Linked DNA regions of Homo sapiens: region 2 is linked to region 1. The links are contacts of gene promoters, found by promoter capture Hi-C in human tissues and cell types (Jung and others, 2019). All regions are on one chromosome and are shown on one strand. Each heading gives the region's core, a stretch centred on a gene start or on the middle of the fragment in contact. The rest is flanking DNA. Distances are from core to core; before and after follow the strand shown. Region 1 holds the start of CRYGS (crystallin gamma S). Region 2 overlaps DGKG (diacylglycerol kinase gamma).

Evidence for each region. The method cuts DNA at HindIII sites, captures the fragments that hold promoters and counts their contacts. A contact is called where the count stands out against the background at its distance.
Region 2: a fragment that was not itself captured here is called in contact with the fragment with the promoter of CRYGS in region 1 in 1 of the 25 tissues and cell types used here (aorta).

The regions. Positions count from the first base shown.
Region 1 is chr3:186,542,591-186,545,944 of GRCh38, reverse strand. CRYGS (crystallin gamma S) reads left to right here and starts at 1,565. Exons shown (of 3, transcript NM_017541.4): 1 at 1,565-1,639. The coding sequence starts at 1,619. The HindIII fragment of the contact is 9,271 bases long and covers 1-2,996 here.
Region 2 is chr3:186,289,717-186,293,070 of GRCh38, reverse strand. All of the region lies in intron 5 of DGKG (diacylglycerol kinase gamma), which reads left to right. Among named protein-coding and RNA genes, the nearest start is that of DGKG, 71 kb to the left of the region's middle. The HindIII fragment of the contact is 3,776 bases long and covers 1-3,354 here.

The sequences.
Region 1 (3,354 bases), core at 316-2,815:
TGAGTGAAATTACCAAATTACCAAATGAGTGAAATGAATCAGATTGCTGATAAACATTGGTTCATATGCTCTCTGGCCATTTAATTAGTATTTCTATCAAAAAACTCTTTTGTATTTCTAAAGTAAAAATTAACCCTCAGAATGTTTAATTCTAATTGAAGTTTACATGGTTTTTATTTTAAGATGAAATTCAAGGAGCAGACCATTACCAAATAAACACTGGAGTAATAGAAATATATTTTAGATATTGCTATTTGTTAATGAAATAAATGGTACTCAGATACTTTTTTTAAAGTTTTAAAGTTTTATAAAATTTTATAAAATTCAGAAAACCAAGCATATAGCTTAATATTTTCTCAATAATCTTTATATTAAGGCACATTTGCCATTTTCTGAATTGACCATAATACATCCCATTTATTAAAATATTTGTTAGTTTTGTTAACAGAAAGATGAGGAAGTTTGACTTTTGAGAATATACTTGATTTTGAGAATATACTTGATCAGTTAAAGTTAAAAATGGAGAAAAGTTAATTTATTGGGTTTTTTTGTATTTACATAAGATGCAATCTCATTCCTAAAGTCAGAGGTGTATTAGGGCCAAAAAATGTTCTCCGATCATGTTCCAATGTTGTATTGTGGGCAAAGAAGACCACCTAGCCAGTAGCTTGTTGTGTTTAGTTAGCTAACCCTTGGCAAATTCAGGAGTCCCACAGTCACTTTTCTACATACGGTGGCACCCTTCTTATGGATTAGAGCTCTTTTTTTAAAAAAAATTGTGTTTTGAAAAAAATTAAATAATAGTTGCAAGAATAAGTCAGTGAACTTTAACATACCCTTTATCTAGATTCCATTCACCAGTTGTTAACATTTTGCTACATTCTCTTTACCACTCAACATGATAGTATTGTTTTATTTTTGCTCAACAATTTGAGAATAGGTTGCAGACATCTTGAACCTTTCTTCTAAATGGTAGCATACATGTCCTGGAAACAGACATACTCTTACCTAGTCATAGTACAATGATCAAATTCAAGAAGTTAAACTTTGGTACAATAGTATTATCTAATTTACAGTCCATATTAAAATGTTTTCTGATTGTCCCAGCAGTGTCTTTATAGTGACTTTTTTCCCCAAACACAAGATCATGCATTGCATTTAGTTGTCATGTAAGTTTTGTTGCGTTTAGAACATGTCACTTCTGTCCAGAAATAGAGGTAGTCTTCTGACTCTTACCTCTCACAAGCTTTGTTGAAGAAAAAGGACATTAGGAATTTCAAAGAGGCTGCTTAAAAAAAAAAAGAGAGACTCTTTTGTTCTTAATTTTTACAACTTTGTCTGGGTTTTGGTTTCTTGACTCAGCAAAGTCTGTAATGCAGCCCTGCTTGGTAAGCATTAAAGGCGGTACTGAAGCTTTCCTTTATTTTATAATCCCAGTTGTTTTTTCTAGAAACCATCAATAGCGTCTAAATGACTGACTCAATTTTTGGATCCTATTCTCATGACTAAGCAAATGTTTGACTGAAACCAGCCCATATAAATGTCACTGTGCCTCTAACTCTCTGTAGCCATTCCTGAATTTCTTTCAGCACTGGGAAAACCAGTCTATGCACCAAAAATGTCTAAAACTGGAACCAAGGTAAGTAGTCATATTGATTTTTAGCCTACCCGCTTTTCACCTAATGATGCATTCAACACACAGAAAAGCTTTTGCTTCTTTGCCTAGAGGTGAGTATGATAGTGGTTAGAGAACTGGGATTGAGAGAGAAGATTAAGAAATGCTTATTATATTTTCCACCCTTAACAGAATTACCGAACACTTTATTAAGGGTTTATCTTTATGTATGGTGCTATGTTAAATACTATACAGGTAATTTATAAATATCATTATTATTTCTGCCTTCTAGCAACTAATATTCTATGCAACTGATATTCTCCATAGGAATAAGGCATGCTAATGGGGATTATATTGAGCAGAAAACTTTTAATAATCAATTAAAATTTTGTTTTCTGAAATTTAGCCTCAACCATTTGTGTTCTAAAAGGCCAAAGTGGATGGGCCAATCAGGTGAATAAAGTCCTACATCTCTCTTCCATTCAAGCAATTATTTTTACTCGTTCCTCAAATAAAGTGCTCCCTTACAGTCAGAAAATTGCCTCTAAAATATTTAACTCACAATTACTGGATTGGAAATTATTCTTTCAGGTAGGGCTTTGGGAATGAGGGAATATGCTTTCATTTTCTTTTTTGCGCTTCCACTGATGAGACAAAACTGCTGCCTGATTTTTACCCCCAGCTATTTGAAAATTTTCAAACCCATTGAATCCTCAAAGAATGGCAAAGAAATGTTGAATGAATATTTGTATATCTTTCACTTATATTCTCCAGTTGTTGACATTTTGCCATATTTGGTCTCTCCTATTTCCATCTCTCTTTATTAAACCATTTGAAAATTAGTAGCAGATTTTATTATACTTTTGCCTTAAGTATTTAGGCATGTATCTCCTAAAAACAAGGGCATTTCCCTGTATAAACACTGTATCACTAGCATGTCCCCAAGAGTTATCATAAATATAATAGCTAATATTGAGACCATATTCAAATCTCCCCTGATTGTCCCCAGAAAAGTGCTTCATGGTGGACTTTTCCCCTAATACAGGATCCAGTGAAAAACATGTATTGTAATTGGTTGTCATGTCTCTTTATTCTCTTTAGTTTTTTTTAGCCTCTCTAAAAATGTCCCTCTACCCTTTTTGTTGTTGTTCTTGAGACATTTTTCAAAGCCTAGGTTAGATGTCTTTTAGAAAGTCTTGCAATCTAGATTTGTCTAATTGTTTCCTCATGTTTAGATTCAGAATAAATATATTTGGCAAGAAAGCTACATAGGCAATGTTGTGTACTTCCTGTTGCATCAGGTCAGAAGGTACCTGTTAACTTGTTCTGTAATTTATTAGTGCTTGATTTTTTTTTCATTGGAAAATAGAACTAATAATCATGCTTGTCATTCAGGAGGTTTGGGGAGAAAAATTAGTGTCTTCAGTGCTCTGAGGTTCTTGAAAATATACCATGCAAATCCCACTAAAAAAGAATTTTTGGTCCTTAGAGGAGGGATATCCATGTATCTTGAGGTAAAGCTGTTCTACAACCATCTTAGATGAAAACATCTGCTTTTAAAGATTTGCAGAGTAGTAATAGTGTACTCTTTTTTATTTATAGATGAGTCGTTCATTTAGTTAAATAACTTTTGCTTGCTAGGGTAAAGGAGATAGTAAATTATTTCTTACTTTTTCTCATTGCTTCTTCCTTTCCCACTATCTTGATAGCAGTTTAATCAGAGGAGTTATGGGCTTGGC
Region 2 (3,354 bases), core at 378-2,877, 250 kb after region 1:
GAGGCATGGTAGGTTATGCATGTGTAGGGAAGCAGGGTGTGTGAAAAACCTCTGGACCCTCTTCTAGTTTTACTCTGAATTTTACAGTGCTCTAAAAAATGTGTTTTTAAAAAAGCACAATAAAATCATCCATAATTTTACCAATGCAATTACATGTGTGTGTGTGTAATCTCCTTGTAGATTTTTCTATAATTTTTTTACAGAATTGGGATCAGACTGTATTGTATAGATAATCTGGGACCGAGTTTCTTCTTTTTTTTTTTGAGATGGAGTCTCGCTCTGTTGCCCAGGCTGGAGTGCAGTGGCACGATCGCAGTTCACTGCAACCTCTGCCTCCCGACCTCTGCCTCCCGCGTTCAAGTGATTCTCCTGCCTCAGCCTCCTGGGTAGCTGGGATTACAGGCACCCGCCACCACGCCCAGCTAATTTTTGTATTTTTAGTAGAGACAGTGTTTCACCATGTTGGCCAGGCTGGTCTCCAACTCCTGACCTCAGGTGATCCACCCACCTCGGCCTCCCAAAGTGCTGGGATTACAGGTATGAGCCACCGTGCCCGGCCTTGGGACCCAGTTTTGTTCTTCACTTAGTTAAGTCATTTACTTGAATGATTTCTGTAATTCAAGACTTTGGGTAAACATCAGTTTTAATGCAATCCCCTCTTTAAACAGATGAGAAAACTGAGGTTGAGTGTGGTGGAGTAAGCCTGCTTGTGTTAAATCACACACACATACTTTGTGTGTTAAATCACACACAACTGAACACAAACTCAGCGGTGGAATCACGGTCTTCTGCTGCCTGGTCTGGTGCTCTTCCCACTATGCCACACTGCCCCACTGAAAGGGAACAAGTAACACAGATACCAAGGGAGAAAGTGGAACAAGTCAGGTCTGCCCAAGAGCCGTCACATGAAAGGGTTTAGGACATGGCACCAGGACAGGACCTCTGTGATCCGGAAGAGGGTGTTGGCATTTTTTACTGGTGGTACCTGAGGGTCGTACTCAGATGGCCATAGGTCAGGGCTATTTCATATAAAGCAGAATGAAGAGGAAGGACACTAATGAGACAGTGTCAGTGCCTCTCAGCCTTCCTGGACCCCTGCATCTCTATGACAGGAGTGAGCAGTAGACTTCAGTGAAAACTAGAGAAATGGTTCAAGATCCAAGGATTGAGTTGTAAATTGGCAAAAAATTGCATGTTTTAAGTGTATAATTAATAAGTTTTGACACACGTATATACCTGTAAAACTAGTACCACAATTAATATGATGAACATACCCATCATCTCTAAAAGTTTTCTTTGTAATCCCTTTTCTCCACCCTCCTTACCCGCCCACCCTTCATCCCCATACAACTACTGATCTGCTTTCTGCCATATATATTAAATTACATTGTCTAGATTTTATATAAATGTTATCATACACTCTCTACTCTTTTGGGTCTGCCTTTTTTCACTCCATGTAATAATTTTGAGATTTATCCATTTTGTATATATCAATAGTTCACATATTTTAGTTGCTGATTAGTGTTTTAATACATAGATATTCCACAATTTGTTCGTCTGTTAACCTACTGATGGACATCTAGATTGCTTCCAATTTATAATTATCATAAATAAAAATGTTATAAATATTCTTGTGCTTTAATGATGTTGAGTATCTTTTCATGTACTTAATTGTTTATTTGGTCTTATTTAATTTCTTTTTACATATTATGAGCCTCAATTTGCTAAAATATTAAGAACGTTTGCCTCTGTGTTCATAAGGGATATTGATTTGCATGTTCATGTCTTATCATGTCATTGTCTGTTTTTGGCTTTAGAGTAATGCTGGCCTCACCAAAAGGGTTGCGTAGGATTCCCTCCTCTTAAATTTTCTGGAAGAATTTGTATAGAATTTATGGTGCCTCTTCACTAAATGTTGAGTACTGGATTTTCACATTCCTACAAAGTCCTGAGCTTTGTTTTTAGGTACAGTTAGGTTACTTGGAAACAGTCTGATCTTTTTGGATCTATCTTTTAAGCTTCACTGGACAGGACCAGAAAGGCATTTACTCACTACTGAGAAAAAATGTTTCTGAATACTCTATCAATGATTCACGAATTATGGGGGGTTTCTACCCTGGTTGGTGGGAATAGGCATTACTCCTGGTTCTCTCCAGGGATTATTCGCTCTAATCCTAGTTCTTTCCCCAGCCTTAGCCTTAGGTGTTTTCCTTCCACAAGTGTGCTAATTACTACTCAGCTGAATAATTGAAGGGAACTCTCTGCTGTTACTCAAAGGGGACCTTCTACACACATTCAGAGCTAGCTCTCTGTGCATACCCTCCTCTCCAGTGCCTGCTCTGTGAATCCTAGCCACTGTGGGCTCCAGATTCCAGCTTCACCTCCACTCAGAGAGACTTCCAGGGTTGGCCTGGCTTCCCCTTCTCTGTGCTGCGGCCTAGAAGCTCTTTCCAAACAGTCTGATGTGGCAGTTGTAGGAGTCATCTCATCTTCTCAGAGATCAGTGTTTGGTCCTCCCTGATAATATAATGTCCTATGAACCATTGTTTCATACATTTTGTCCAGTTTTGTCACTGTTTTAGGTGAGAGGGTAAATCTGGTCTCTGTTAGCCCATTTTAGTCAAGGTAGAAGTCACTGATAGAGTTTTAATTGATGAATAATATGAGGACCTAGCAATAACTTTGGGTGTAATGCACTACACAGTACAAAGGCCTGTTCCCATGTTTTCCTCCAGTGACAATCTTAATACTTCATTAAATATGTAATTTTATTACAACCTCCCCTATCTCACTATCCCTGTCTTTATCTCATCCTATTGTATTTTCATCTCTACTTGCCAAACCCTGAGGCTTTCTGCTTTTGTATAATAGAGGTGATATCTTCTTGCATCCCGCTAAGGGCCTTGTCCAGTAGAAAATTACTTTTGAAAATCTGGTCTTCTGAGACCTCAGGATGAAGCTTTCTTTCCTTACTTTGCAGCCACGTTTCCTAGGCTCCATCTTGGTTTCTTCATGAGGCCCTCTGTAATATACAAATTGTGTCAGTGACCTTTGGTTTCTCCTATTGTCCATCTGGATGATGGTTAACTCCCTCCTCAGACCCACAACTGAATCCCTGGAACCTGGAAGGCTTTCATCTAGCACAGCCCTGCTTGCCTAAAATGGAATATTCACTCCCATTGCTTGGTTATTTGTTTCTCCGAATGAAGAGTGTACAGGTAACATTGCCTTCCTCAACAGACATTACGATCAAGGCTGTCTCTCCCACTGCCTCTACCTTCAGTACTTTGTTACTTGGTGGTATAATATAACAACACCTAAAACATTGGATTTTCCACTGTCCATCTTCCCTTT